Regions from separate parts of the Homo sapiens genome. Here all the other regions are linked to region 1. The links are contacts of gene promoters, found by promoter capture Hi-C in human tissues and cell types (Jung and others, 2019). All regions are on one chromosome and are shown on one strand. Each heading gives the region's core, a stretch centred on a gene start or on the middle of the fragment in contact. The rest is flanking DNA. Distances are from core to core; before and after follow the strand shown. Region 1 holds the start of PITPNA (phosphatidylinositol transfer protein alpha). Region 2 holds the start of SMYD4 (SET and MYND domain containing 4). Region 3 overlaps RPA1 (replication protein A1). Region 4 has its middle 34 kb from the start of ABR-AS1. Region 5 overlaps TRARG1 (trafficking regulator of GLUT4 (SLC2A4) 1 (gene/pseudogene)).

The links. Contacts are between HindIII fragments. The study calls those that stand out against the background at their distance.
Region 2: a contact is called between the fragment with the promoter of SMYD4 here and the fragment with the promoter of PITPNA in region 1, in 1 of the 25 tissues and cell types used here (dorsolateral prefrontal cortex).
Region 3: a contact is called between a fragment that was not itself captured here and the fragment with the promoter of PITPNA in region 1, in 2 of the 25 tissues and cell types used here (dorsolateral prefrontal cortex and mesenchymal stem cells).
Region 4: a fragment that was not itself captured here is called in contact with the fragment with the promoter of PITPNA in region 1 in 3 of the 25 tissues and cell types used here (dorsolateral prefrontal cortex, lymphoblastoid cells and spleen).
Region 5: a fragment that was not itself captured here is called in contact with the fragment with the promoter of PITPNA in region 1 in 4 of the 25 tissues and cell types used here (dorsolateral prefrontal cortex, lymphoblastoid cells, mesenchymal stem cells and 1 more).

What each region holds. Positions count from the first base shown.
Region 1 is chr17:1,561,497-1,564,196 of GRCh38, forward strand. It overlaps PITPNA (phosphatidylinositol transfer protein alpha), which reads right to left and starts at 1,296. Exons shown (of 12, transcript NM_006224.4): 1 at 1,045-1,296. The coding sequence starts at 1,064. RefSeq lists enhancers at 249-348, 1,117-1,616 and silencers at 459-588, 1,069-1,118, 1,189-1,468. The HindIII fragment of the contact is 13,696 bases long and covers 1-2,700 here.
Region 2 is chr17:1,828,571-1,831,270 of GRCh38, forward strand. SMYD4 (SET and MYND domain containing 4) reads right to left here and starts at 1,332. Exons shown (of 11, transcript NM_052928.3): 1 at 1,156-1,332. RPA1 (replication protein A1) reads left to right here and starts at 1,435. Exons shown (of 17, transcript NM_002945.5): 1 at 1,435-1,556. The coding sequence starts at 1,524. RefSeq lists a silencer at 1,184-1,703 and an enhancer at 2,331-2,700. The HindIII fragment of the contact is 28,265 bases long and covers 1-2,700 here.
Region 3 is chr17:1,883,231-1,885,930 of GRCh38, forward strand. RPA1 (replication protein A1) reads left to right here. Exons shown (of 17, transcript NM_002945.5): 13 at 582-714. Among named protein-coding and RNA genes, the nearest start is that of RPA1, 55 kb to the left of the region's middle. The HindIII fragment of the contact is 3,595 bases long and covers 1-2,700 here.
Region 4 is chr17:1,214,026-1,216,725 of GRCh38, forward strand. It overlaps a transcript of ABR not described here. Among named protein-coding and RNA genes, the nearest start is that of ABR-AS1, 34 kb to the left of the region's middle. RefSeq lists an enhancer at 2,322-2,700. The HindIII fragment of the contact is 9,567 bases long and covers 1-2,700 here.
Region 5 is chr17:1,299,584-1,302,283 of GRCh38, forward strand. It overlaps TRARG1 (trafficking regulator of GLUT4 (SLC2A4) 1 (gene/pseudogene)), which reads left to right. Exons shown (of 3, transcript NM_172367.3): 3 at 1-1,395. Among named protein-coding and RNA genes, the nearest start is that of TRARG1, 21 kb to the left of the region's middle. The HindIII fragment of the contact is 5,551 bases long and covers 1-2,700 here.

The DNA of each region.
Region 1 (2,700 bases), core at 46-2,545:
CCCCCATCTCCAACGGCAGGTATACTCATCCCAACATACTCTCTTTCCGGACCAGCCTCGACCCCGGTAACTTCCCGGCCTTCTCCACTTCGGACCCTACCCAACATTTTCTGGCCTCCTCGCCCAAGTCTCCCCACGTCCCAAGCAGTCATCCCAAGCTTGTTCCAAAAGCCTCCTCTTCCGCACCAGCTGCTTGGGCACCACGGTTACTCCGGCCCGCATCTCAGCCCCCTCTGCATGTCCTCAGACCCTTCACCTGTCTCCCCAGCCAGGCCCTGACTTCCTAGTCCTCCTCCTGTGTCCACTTACCACCACCCCTCACCCGATGCCTAAGGCGGCCACTCCTCCCCATCCCCATCCCAACTCCATCGCGGAGCCTCTGACCCATCCACCCGGCTCTCCGTGTGAACTGTTCGGCCCTCCACCTTTCCCCACCGCCGGGAGGCCCTGCCTGCCCCGGTGCGCCTCTTCCTCGGCCGCCGCGGGGCCTCTCAGCGCCGCCTGCAGTCCCGGCTGAGCCCGCGCCCTCGGCCCGCGCAGAGCGACCCCACAGCACTCCCAGCGCTCGGCGTCCCCTCGGCCTCCCCCAGTCCCGGGCCAGCTCTCCCTGCCCTGACCCCGTCTCGGGCCTGGCCTCGCCCTCGCTGTCCCCGGCCTCTCCTCGGGTCCACTTGGGCCTCCGAGGCCCCCGGGGCGCCTGAGGAGCCGTCCGCCCGGGTTGTCCCTCCGTGCCCGTGGGCCCCTCCATGCCCCGGCTGCCCGTCCATGCCCCGTGGGCCCCGGCTCAGATGCCGAACGCCCCGGCTGCCCCTCCACGCCCCGGCCGCCCCTCCACGCCCCGGCCGCCCCTCCGTGCCCCGTGGGCCCCGCCTCACGTGCCGCCCGCCCCGGATCCCCTCCATCCCCGCTGGGCCCGCCTCAGGCACCCTCCGTCCCTGCTGCCCCTCCGTCCATCCGGGCCCTGCGTCCCTCGCCGCGCCGTCGCCCCGGCGGCCGTCCCCACCCTCCCTCCTCCCCGCTTCCGCACGGCCGCCGGACACTCACTACTCCTTGAGCAGCACCATGTCGCTTCGCGGCTCGGTGGCTGCCCGCGGCCCGCCCGGCCTCCCGCCCGCTGCCCGCCGGCCGCTCTCCCCGTGGCCCGGCCCGGCCCGGCTGCCTGTGCGTCTTCGTCGTGCTCTGCTCCGTCCCCGCCGCCCTCGCCGCGGTCGCCGCGCCGGCTCCTGCCGCCCGGGCCTCGTCGCCTCTCGCGCCGCTGCCGACGCCGCCCGGAGCTCCGGTTCCGCAGCGCCGCGCGGGGGCGGGGCGTCTCTGCGGCAACCAGAGCGTCACACGCCGCGGTGCGCGCTGACGTCACGCGGGGCCGAGCCTTCCCAGGCCCGCCCTCCCGTCCTTAAGTGGGCCGCGGCGGCGCTGTCGGTTCCGAGGTGGGGCCCCGCGGCTGGGGCCAGACCCGGCAGAAGGCGGAGCAGACTAGGGTGTCCGTCACCGTCCTCGGTGTGAACCGCCACGGATGCACGCGGGTGCTGGCTGGGGGGCCTCCCCGGTTGAGGGAATTGAGACCCAGGAAAAGGTTGTTTCAAAAAATATTAATAGCCGCGCGCGGTGGCCCACGCCTGTAATCCTTGCACCTTGGGAGGCCGAGGCGGGCGGATCACCTGAGGTCAGGAGTTCGAGACCAGCCTGGCCAACATGATGAAACCCCGTCTCTACTAAAAATACAAAAATTAGCTGGGCGTGGAGGCACGCACCTGTAATCCCAGCTACACGGGAGGCTGAGGCGGGAGAATCGCTTGTACCGGGAGGCAGAGTTTGCAGTGAGCCGAGATCGCGATCGCGCCATTGCACTCCAGCCTGGGGGACAAGAGTGAAACTTCGTCTCAAAAAAAAAAAAAAGAAAAGAAAAGGGCTGTGAGGCCGGGCGCGGTGGCTCCTGGCAGTAATCCCAGGCACATCATGCCTGTAATGCAGCACTCAGGCGGGCGCATCACCTGAGGTCAGGAGTTCCAGACCAGATGGCGAAACCCCATCTCTACTAAAAGTACAAAAATTAGCCGGGCGTGGTGGTGGACGTGGTGGTGGTAGTCCCAGCTGCTCGGGAGGATGAGGCAGGAGAATCGCTTGAACCCTGGAGGCGGAGGTTGCAGTGAGCCGAGATCGCACCATTGCACTCCAGCTGGGGCGACAGAGCGAGACTCTGCATCAAAAAAAAAAAAAAAAAAAAGAATGAAAAGGGCTGTGAGAAATGAGACACAGGCTTAGCGGCATTACACGGAGGGGCACCTAATTGAGCGTCAGGGATGTAGTCAGGGAAGGCTTCCTGGAGGAAGAGATTCTCAGATCTGCAGAGGGCTTCGGAGAAGAGCATAGCAGGCAGAGTGAATGCAAAGGCTGGAGGCAAGAGGGAGAGCATGGTGCATTTGGAGAACTGACAAGTGAGTGGAACAGAACATTTCAGGGCTGAGCAGCTCAATAGGGGAGGGTTCCTGGTGAACGATGATAAGGTATTTGGAGTCCACCCTAAGGGCGGTGGGAGGGCATGTAAGGGCTCTGAGCAGTGACATGAGCGGGTGTCCTGGGCGAAGGCTCACTCTAGTGGTTGGGTGGACAGAGGGGATGGAATGCCAGAGCGTAGGCAGGGAGACCGGCGAGGAGGCTGCTGCAGATGTCCAGGTGCAGGTGGACTAGGACAGTGGGAGG
Region 2 (2,700 bases), core at 82-2,581, 270 kb after region 1:
ATAGCTACCATCTGTGCTCTTAGATCCTCTTTTTTTTTTTTTTGTGAGGCAGAGTCTTGCTCTGTCACCCAGGCTGGAGTGCAGTGGCACCATCTCGGCTCACTGCACCCTCCGCCTCCCAGGTTCAAGCAATTCTCCTGCCTCAGCCTCCGAGTAGCTGGGATTACAGATGCGCGCAACTACGCCCGGCTAATTTTTGTATTTTTAGTAGAGACGGGGTTTCACCATGTTGGCCAGGCTGGTCTCGAACTCCTGACCTCAGATGATCCGCCAGCCTTGGCCTCCCAAAGCGCTGGGATTACAGGCGTGAGCCACCGCGCCCGGCCTGATCCCTCTCTAGTTTCTCTGAGACACATCCCAGATTTTTCTTTCTCACCCACCCCAGCAACTATTCATTTAACAAGGTATTTCCCTCTCTTACATAGTTCAGCGTTCTGATTAAGTCCTCACCATCTCGTCTGGCATTCTTCCTAGAGTGTTATAATTAATGTCCATGCCATTGGCACCACTCCCCACTTTCAATCCAGCCTCCAACACTGAGACAGAAGTCAGTGCTCTGCCCTTAAATTCATCAACGCTACTCCAAGCATACCAGGAAGCCCAGGACAAAACCATCCTTACTTGACCCTTGTCTGACTTTCTAATTCTCAGGTGTCACTTACTCCTCTGCATGCACCCTTGCATACTGAACAACTCATTGCTATCCCCGGCTTGCCAGGCTATTTCAACTCTCCAATGTTTTGGCATAGGCTACTCATGCTTTCCGGACCAACCCTACCCTGGCTTATGGAGTCCACCTGGAAAATTCCCACACGTTCTTCGACTCGGCTCAAATGGCACCTCCTCCGGGACGGCGTCCCTGATTTCCCAGCTGTGATTCCAACACCCTTGGGGCCTGTACCACGTCTACCTGGAGGTGGGGTTACTGACGGCATAAAGTGCCCCCACACACTGTCCTCTTCTCTAAGGACGGGGGCCGGGTCTGATTCCCTTTCGGAGACCCCCCACCCCCACCCCCCACCGCCACGGTGCCAAGCTCAGGGCTTGGAGGCGGGAAGTCAGCCCCGCGTTGCTGGACGAATCGGGTCACTACTGCGACTCTATTTAGCAGCGGAGGTCTCAAGGAACAGCTTTAACCTCCTCTGGGATACCAACCCGTGCACTCGCCAGAGACCGAGGCGAGAACGCCTCGAGAACCGCTCAGACGCGCCCGGAACTGCGCCCTGGTCTCCCTCCCAGCGCCCGCGCAGCTCCTGGCGCGCCCCTTGGCGCCCCGCTCCGCCCCGCACCGCGTCCGGCGTCCCGCGCCAGGCCTCGCTTGGGACCATGGGTGGGTCACGTGGGCCGCGCCTCGGCCAATGCGGCGGCTGCGTAGCGCCCGGGCCCGCCCCTGAGCCGCGCGCACGTCGGGGGCGGGAGCGGTGCGCGCAACTTCTCGGGCCAATAACTGCGCAGCGCGCGGGACCCGGGTGGGGAAGCTGGAGCTGTTGCGGGGTCCGCGGGGAAGTCTTGGCGGTGGAGCCATGGTCGGCCAACTGAGCGAGGGGGCCATTGCGGTGAGGAGGTGCCGGGGGCTGGGCCGGCGGTCCGGGGTGGCTGCGGCCCCGAGCCTCGCGGAGTAGAGAGGGGGAGGGGAGCCCGGGGCGACGGGGGATGAACGCGAGGGGAGGAGATGGCGGGGGGCGGTGGGGACCCGCCGGGCGTCCCTCTAGTGTCATCGCCCCCTCCTCAAAGCATTCTTTCGATCGTCTTTAAAACATGCTCACATTTTTCCTACGTAAGAACAAACTAAATAAACGCTTGCCTTTCTCTGCATCTTCCACCTGCGGACACTTTCTGTCTCTTCTCCTTTCCCCACCCACAGCCAAACTTCTTGTCTGGTTTCAGCCACTTCCTTTCCTCGCCTTTCATCAACTCTTTAACCCACTCCAGTCATCCCTTTGATCGCTGTAGAAAACCCTGGCTGAAGGTACCAGTGGCCTCCAAGTTGCTAAATCCAGCCCTTTTCCGTTTTCAGCTTACCTGAGTTCTCAGCAGCGTTTGCGTTTAAGCCCTGCTTGCTTCAGGTCACACCCTCTTCCTTGGTTTTTAGTGGCTCAGCTTGGCAGGTCTATCCCCGTCTTATTTGTAAGTCCCTCTTTGTAAATTTTTGTTGAATCAAGGCTCCCTCTAGGCCCTCTTGACTCCCGAGGCAATTTCTTTTTTTTTCTCCAGCCTGGGCGACACTCACTGTCGCCCAGGCTGGAGTGCAGAGGCGCGATCTCGGCTCACTGCAACCTCCGTCTCCCGGGTGCAAGTGAGTCTCCTGTCTCAGCCTCCCGAGTAGCTGGGACTACATGTGTGCGCCACCACACTCGGCTACTTTTTGTGTTTTTATTAGAGACTGGGTTTCATCATGTTGGCCAGGCTGATCTCGAACACCAGACCTCAAGTTATCCGCCCGCCTCGGCCTCCCAAAATGCTGGAATTACAGGCATGAACCACCGCGCCTGGCCCCAAGGCAATTCCATTGCCATCTATTAATATATGTCAGTTGCTCACAAATTTCTTTGTACAGAGCCACCTTTACTCTAAAAGACAAACTTCCGTCATCTGTCTGCTTATTCCATGCTTCAGAGGGTTTTAAGTTCAGTATACGTATCCCAAAGCAAATTCTTTATCTTTCTAAGTCTGGGCCTCTTGATCCCTATCTCCACGGAT
Region 3 (2,700 bases), core at 86-2,585, 320 kb after region 1:
ACTGCAACCTCCGCCTCCTGAGAATTGCCTACAAGTGATTCTCCTGCCTCAGCCTCCCGAGTAGCTGGGATTACAGGCACCCACCACCACGCCCGGCTAATTTTGTATTTTTAGTAGAGACGGGGTTTCACCATGTTGGCCAGGATAGTCTTGATCTCTTGACCTCGTGATCCGCCCGCCTCATCCTCCCAAAATGCTGGGGTTACAGGCATGAGCCACTGCGCCCAGCCTAAAAAAAATTTTTTTAATGGGCCTGGGCATGGAAGTCCCAGTTACTTAGCAGGGCAAAGGTGGGAGGATCACTGAGCTCAGGGGGTCAAAGCTGCCTTGAGCCATGATTGCATCATTGCACTCCAGCCTGGGTGACAGAGTGAAACTCTGACACAATTTTTTTTAATTTAAATATTATAAAAAATATATAATTACGAAGATACCAGCTTCAGCCGACATGACCGTGACCTGTGTGAAAGCTGGGCGGGTGGTGGGAAACCTGTGTCTGTCGCGTAGCAGCAAGTTGCATGTGGAGAAGCAGAAGCATGTCACATCAAGCGCTCGTCATCGTTATTCGTTCACGTTTTCAGGTTTGACGCAGAAGGACAAGCCTTAGATGGTGTTTCCATCTCTGATCTAAAGAGCGGCGGAGTCGGAGGGAGTAACACCAACTGGAAAACCTTGTATGAGGTCAAATCCGAGAACCTGGGCCAAGGCGACAAGGTACCCAGCATTCCTAACCACCTTCACAAAGGGCTGTAAAGTGTGCAGAAGGATGGATTTAGAAACTTGGTTTCCAGCACCAGCTGTCAGAGCCGTAATTCTTACCCGGGGCTGTGACCTGAGCGTGGCATGGGGGTTGAGAATCACTGGCAGAGGGAAGCAGCCAGGTGTGCTCATGGGAATATGTGTTACCCCTCAGGGGACTGGAGGCAGGAGAGTCTGAAGAACTCTTAGAGTCAATTCCTAGAGGGATCTTGGAGCAGGGGTGACAGTCAAGCTTTGTGGTATAATATCACCTGCTTTCGGGTCCACGTTTCTTTCCTGTGATCCTTCCTGCAAATTTAAGCGCCCACATATCAAAAAGATGTTTTTTGAGATGAGCGTTAGTCCGCCTCAGGTCAGACATGAGGCAGTTTCACGGGTGCTGTTCCTGGCTGTAGAATAGTGTATTAACCTCATAGGCTGAGAGCTGCCGGCATTCCCGGACAAGGATTGGCCCTGACATTTGACTTTTAGTTGCAGCTTTTTCCTTTCAGTGTTTGTATTTAATGACCCTCCTCCCATCTTGATCTAAGCCTGTGTTCTGCCAGCAGTTTAGTATTTAGATCATTTATTTCTCCTTTACGCCTGCTCTTTTATTTTCATCATATACAGTGTAGGTTTCATTCCTCCTGTCTCATTTCACTGTATACCCTTATCCATCATTGTCAACAGCAGCTCTTAAGTGCTCTTATAGAACATCTCAAGAATTAAACACTGGACAGATCCTCGTTGTCCTGTCATGGGACACCCACTCTTTCGGTTCTCTGTAATCCCAGCTACCCAGGAGGCTGAGGCAGGTGGATTACATGAGCCCAGGAGTTCGACTGAGCAACATGGAAGACCCCTTCTCTTGAAACAAAAACTTTATTGCTGAAAAATGCTGACAATCATCTGAGTCGTAATCTTCTTGCTGGTGGGGGTTTGTTTCAGGGTTGATGGCTGAGCAGTCACGGCGATGGTTGCTGAACATCGGCGTGTCTTTGGCAGTTTCTTAAAATAAGACAGCAGTGAAGTGTGCCACATTGGTTGACTCTTCCTTTCACAAAAGCTTTCTCCATAGCCGGCGATGCTGTTTGACAGCATTTTACCCACAGGAGAACTTTTTCAAACTGGAGTCTCTCCCTCTCAGGTCCTGTCACTGCTTTATCAGCCAAGCTTATGCAAATTCTAAATCCTTTGTCGTCATTTCAACAATGCTCACAGCGTTCTCACCACAAGAGATTTCATCTCAAGAAAGCACTTTCCTTGCCCATCGTAAGGAGCAGCTCCTTATCCGTTCAAGTTTGATCGTGAGATTACAGCAGTTCAGGCCCATTTTCAGGCTCCATTTGTAATTCTAGTTCTCTCGTTATTTTCGTCACATCTACAGATCCCTCCTCCACCAAAGTCTTGAAGCCTCAGTGTCTACCTTGAGGGTTGGAATCAACTTGTTCCAAACTCCCGTTGATGTTGGGATTTTGATCTCCTCCCATGAATCATGAATGTTCCTTTTTTTTTTAACTTGAGACAGGGTCTCATTCTGTCACTCAGGCTGGAGTGCACTGGCTTGATCACAGCTCACTGCAGTCTCAACCTCCCCAGGCTCCCAAGCTGGGACTACAGGTGCTGCCACACCTGGCTAATTGTATTTTTTGTAGAGACTGAGTTGTGTCATGTTGCCCAGGCTGCTCTCAAACTCCTGGGCTCAAGGGATCTCCCTGCCTCAACCTCTCAAAGTGCCAGGAGTTACAGGTGTGAGCGACTGTGCCCAGCCAACTGTTCTTAATAGCATCTAGAATGGTGAATCCTTTTCAGGTTTTCAATTTACTTTCCCCAGATCCATCAGAGGAATCACTGTGGCAACTATCGCCTCATGAAATATGTCTCTTAGACTTAAAAAGTCAAAATTACTCCTTGATTTGCATGGGCTGCAGAATAGATGTTGTTATCAAGCATGAAAACAAT
Region 4 (2,700 bases), core at 22-2,521, 350 kb before region 1:
TACAGGCGCCCGCCACCACGCCCGGCTAATTTTGTATTTTTAGTAGAGAAGAGGTTTCATCATGTTGGTCAGGCTGGTCTCGAACTCCTGATCTTGTGATCCACCCGCCTCGGGCTCCCAAAGTGCTGGGATTACAGGCATGAGCCACCGCTCCCGGCCTGAGATGTGAAATGTTACACAGGACTTGGACTTCCCCGCCCCCCACCACCACCTTAAACCTAAAGATAAGCTAACTTCAGGTCCCTTCAACCTAAAATGAACATTTATTTTGGCTTTCATCAGTTTTTGGAATCTATGATACTAGGATGTGTGTGTATATATATATATTTCCTCTCCATGAGTAACCACCACCCCAGGGATGACTTAGGCAAAATATTTAAATTATTCCTTAACAAGTTTAAATTACCCTAACAATGCTGAATATCTACAGTTAATAGCAATTTAAAGGAATATAAAGGAGAGATTTAAGATTTGAATATAAAAATTCTGATCCTGGCCGGGTGCAGTGGCTCATGCCTGTAATCCCAGCACTTTGGGAGGCTGAGGCAGGTAGATCACCTGACGTCAGGAGTTCGAGACCAGCTTGACCAACATGGAGAAACCCCATCTCTACTAAAAATACAAAATTAGCCAGGCGTAGTGGCACATGCCTGTAATCCCAGCTACTCGGGAGGCTGAGGCAGGAGAATCGCTTGAACCTGGGAGGCGGATGTTGCAGCGAGCCAAGATCGTGCCACTGCACTCCAGCCTAGGCAACAAGAGCGAAACTCCACCTCAAAGAAAAAAATATATATATTTGATTGTACATAGTTTTTCCCTGTAATGTGGCAGCTATCTCGGTGTATATAAGCTCAATGGCCAAGTTCTATTTCTCTCCAAATAAAATACTCAGACCAAAAAAGTATTGCTCTTGACCAGGTGGGGTGGCTCACGCCTATAGTCCCAGCACTTTAGGAGGTGGAGGCAGGCAGATTGCTTGAGTCCAGGTGTTTAAGACCACCCTGGGCAACATGGCAAAACCCCATTTCTACAAAACATACAGAAATTAGGTAGGCGTGATGGTGTGTGCCTGTAGTCCCAACTACTCAGGAGGCTGAGGCAGGAGAATCACTTGAACCCAGGAGGCAGAGATTGCAGTGAGCCTAGATCTCCCCACTACACTCTAGCCTGGGTGACAGAGCAAGACTCTGTCTCAAAAAAAAAAAAAAGAAAAGAAAGAGCTCTCCCTCTCCCTCTCTCTCCACGGTCTCCCTCTGATGCCGAGCCGAAGCTGGACTGTACTGCTGCCATCTCGGCTCACTGCAAGCTCCCTGCCTGATTCTCCTGCCTCAGCCTGCCGAGTGCCTGCGATTGCAGGCGCGCGCTGCCATGCCTGACTGGTTTTCGTATTTTTTTGGTGGAGACGGGGTTTCGCTGTGTTGGCCGGGCTGGTCTCCAGCTCCTAGCCGCGAGTGATCTGCCAGCCTCGGCCTCCCGAGGTGCCGGGATTGCGGACGGAGTCTCGTTCACTGAGTGCTCAATGGTGCCCAGGCTGGAGTGCAGTGGCGTGATCTCGGCTCACTATAACCTCCACCTCCTAGCCGCCTGCCTTGGCCTCCCAAAGTGCCCAGAGTGCAGCCTCTGCCCGGCCGCCACCCCGTCTGGGAGGTGTACCCAGCAGCTCATTGAGAACGGGCCATGATGACGATGGCGGTTTTGTCGAATAGAAAAGGGGGAAATGTGGGGAAAAGAAGGAGAAATCGGATTGTTGCTGTGTCTGTGTAGAAAGAGGTGGACATAGGAGACTCCATTTTGTTCTGTACTGGGAGAAAATCTTCTGCCTTGGGATCCTGTTGATCTGTGACCTTACCCCCAACCCCCGTGCTCTCTGAAACATGTGCTGTGTCCACTCAGGGTAAATGGATTAAGGGCGGTGCAAGATGTGCTTTGTTAAACAGATGCTTGAAGGCAGCGTGCTCGTTAAGAGTCATCACCAATCCCTAATCTCAAGTACCCAGGGACACAAACACTGCGGAAGGCCGCAGGGTCCTCTGCCTAGGAAAACCAGAGACCTTTGTTCACTTGTTTATCTGCTGACCTTCCCTCCACTATTGTCCTATGACCCTGCCAAATCCCCCTCTCCGAGAAACACCCAAGAATGATCAATAAATACTAAAAAAAAAAAGAAAGAAACTGAACACCTAAATAGAACTTACTATGTGCCAGGCTCAGCCCTTATATCAACTTGCTCAGTTCTCACAAATCTGCGAGGTAGGGAAGCTGTTATAACCCCCTGCTCCAGAGGAGGAGAGCGGGGCCCACAGGGGCTGTGTCATTTGCCTAGAGTCACGCAGGAGTGAGTAGCAGAGGCAGCCGCAAACCCAGCTCCGAGTCTTCCTCTGTTCCCTGCACTAGACTCACTCCTCTCACGTCAGAAGTGGAGAAAGGGGCCAGAGGAAAGCTGACGCCATTGGCAAAATCACGTCCAGCCTGAAGGGGCCCGTCGGCTCTAACTAATGCCTCCCATTCACATTGCCCATCTTCCCATCTTTCAAGAAAATCCAGAAATCCAGATTGCTAGGTAAAACCTGGTTTTAAATGGATCCAATTTTGTTTTAACCCTCTGTAGCCCAAACAAAGCACATCAGCAGACTGCACTTAGCCTGGGGCCGGCCACGTGCCACCCTGCTGTTGCAGCTGTCTCTAAGGACTGCGCTGTCC
Region 5 (2,700 bases), core at 79-2,578, 260 kb before region 1:
ATGATTTTCCCTACACTTCTCCCTGGCCCAGGCTCCAGCCACAGGCACCTCTCCTGCCCCCGCCCACCCTCCTGACCGCAGCTCCCAGGCCCTGGAGACCTCCAGGCTTTCCTGCCCTGGGCAGCCCCACCTCACAGCCAGAGTCAATGCCTTCATGGGAAGGGCTCCCAGCCACACCCAGAGTGGCCCAAAGCTGTTGAAGTCAGCATCCTTTGTCCCATCAGGACCCTCCTGCCTCCTCTCCAGGCCCTTGTTCGCCTCCCCACCCTCCTCAGAGGCCCGGGGAAGGGAAGAGCAGGTCAGTACAGAGGTTCTGTCTACAGGGAGGGGCCCTGGGTCTATGCACAGCTGGAGCTCTGAGCCTTCCACAGCCCGTGTGACTGCTAGAGGGCAGGGGTGCAGGGCTCAGGGGGCCCGGGCTGGTCCTTTGGGGCTGGTGTTCCTACGTCAGTCCCCACCTGGGGAATAAACTCCAGCCTCTCCTGCTCATACAGAAGGGACTGGTTGGGTTTGCTTTATGGGATCTTTGAGACCAAAACAGATGCTCCTGTTTGCTGGGGGAGGGTGTGAGCACGGAGTATTTCTGTCCCTCGTGAAGTCACGTCACACAGGGGAGAGGCGAGGTCGATGGAACTGGCCACGCACAGGCTCTGGCTCTGGAAGGAGGGATGATGAGTGGGCGTTTTCCCGGCAGGCCCCCGGGGTCCTCAGCCTCAGCAACCCAGGGAGAGGACAGAAACGAACCGATGGTTGAGGGATTGTCACGGGAGGAACATGACACCCGAAGGGACTCTAGGTGCCCTCGGAGTGCCACACATGCCCAGACCTTCTCACACCCACACAAATAGGCTCTGCCGTGCACTCCTACACACACACACACACACACACACGCTTGTTCACACTCAGAACCCAGGACAGCCACAGCCACCGCTTAGGGGAAGCCACTGCAGATGCCCCTGGAATGGGCACAGCACAGCCAGGGCGCTCTTCCAGGCAGGCGAGGATAACTTGAGAGTTTCCTAGGGCACCAGGGACAGAGCTCAGAGGCCCCCGAGGTGTGTGTAGGAGGCGGAGGCCCGCAGAGCACAGAGCAGGAGAAGGGCTTGGGCCCTGGAGGAGAAAGCCATTCTGGACACCAGGGGACCTGGACGGAGGGTCCCCACAGCCCGTGCCCCACGCCGCCTGGAGGCCAGAGGGGTCAGTGGCCCTGCTGTCCCGGCTCCATCTTGGTTCTAGCCGCCACCTGCATGAACACAGTGGCCCGGCTTAACGCACTAACCCAGCCTCTCCCTGTGTCCCACAGGGAGTAGCAAGACCCACCCCACACTGCCTTCACCATCTACACCAGTGACGCCGCTGTGTGTCTTAGCATGGAAATAAATAAACCTGAATGTACGTGCTCGCCTCTGGCCTGTGTGTTTGTGCTGCTGGGGTCAAGGGGGTTCCAAACAATCCGGGGGTGAGCAGTCCACTCCGCCTGTGGCCCCAGGGTCAGGCTGAGGCTGCGCACTGGGAACCTGGCACATCGGGGCTCCGTGGCCAACTCAAGGCGTTCCTCTGGGCAAGTCACTTGTCCACTCCGGGACTCAGTTTGTCCAACTGTAAAATAAGTGGTAATGCCAGTCTCATCTCCCTTCAGTCCTTTCTGCATAGATCTCAGGCCTGGAGAGAAGAGGGCAGGCAAGAGTTCGAGACCAGCCTGCAACATGAGGAGACTCTGTCTCTAGAAAACATTTAAAAATCAGCCAGGCGTGGTGCTGCACGCCTGAGGTCCCAGCTACTCAGGAAGCTGAGGTGGGAAGATCACTTGAGTCAGAGAAGTTGGAGCTGCAGTGAGCTGAGCCATGTTCCTGCTCCTGGCTCCCAGACCTCCTGGGACAGTCCCTAGACCACCAGGTTCCCCACCCTGCTGGCCTCACTACTGGGACACTCACTGCCACCCCCAACAACCAACTCTCTGCCTTCCTAGAGCGTTTTCTTTAGGTCGGAGTCACATGGTCCAGGAAGCCTGCCCTAAGTGTCTGCGTCCCCAGGGTTCAGTACAGAGCCTGGCACGTAGCAGGTGCTGAGGACAAGTCTGTAGAAGGAGGGAGGGAGGGGCCCCAGCAACCAGGAGCCTCCCAGGTTGCAGGATCCCTGTGAGCGGAAGCTCCTTCCATCCAGACTGGAGGCCACGGCGCCGCTTCCTGTGTGCCAGGCGCGGGGCTCCCTGCTCCGCTGGAATTACCTCATTTAATCCTCACAACACTTCCACGAGGGATCCTCCCATTTTCCTGGGAAGAAATAAAACTCAGGCGATCCAGGGGCTTAGCCAAGGTCATACAGTCAGGAGCCAGTAGAGCAGGACAGTCCTTGAGAAGCGTGCCTCGGTGACAGGGGCCTCTCCAGACCATAAAAGCCTGCGGGCTCTGCCAAGGGAGCTGACTGTTTCCACACCCTGTAACTGCTCCCAGCACTTTGGGAGGCTGAGGCGGGCGGATCACCTGAGGCCACCAGTTTGAGACCAGCCTGACCAATATGTTGAAGCTGACAAGCTTCAAAACGAACATTGATTGAACTGAAAAATATGATGTACATGTGTCCTTACACACTTTTGTTTTGTTTTGTTTTTTGAGACAGAGTTTCGCTCTCGTTGTCCAGGCTGGAGTGCAGTGGCGTGATCTCGGCTCACTGCAACCTCTGCCTTCCCAGGTTCAAGCG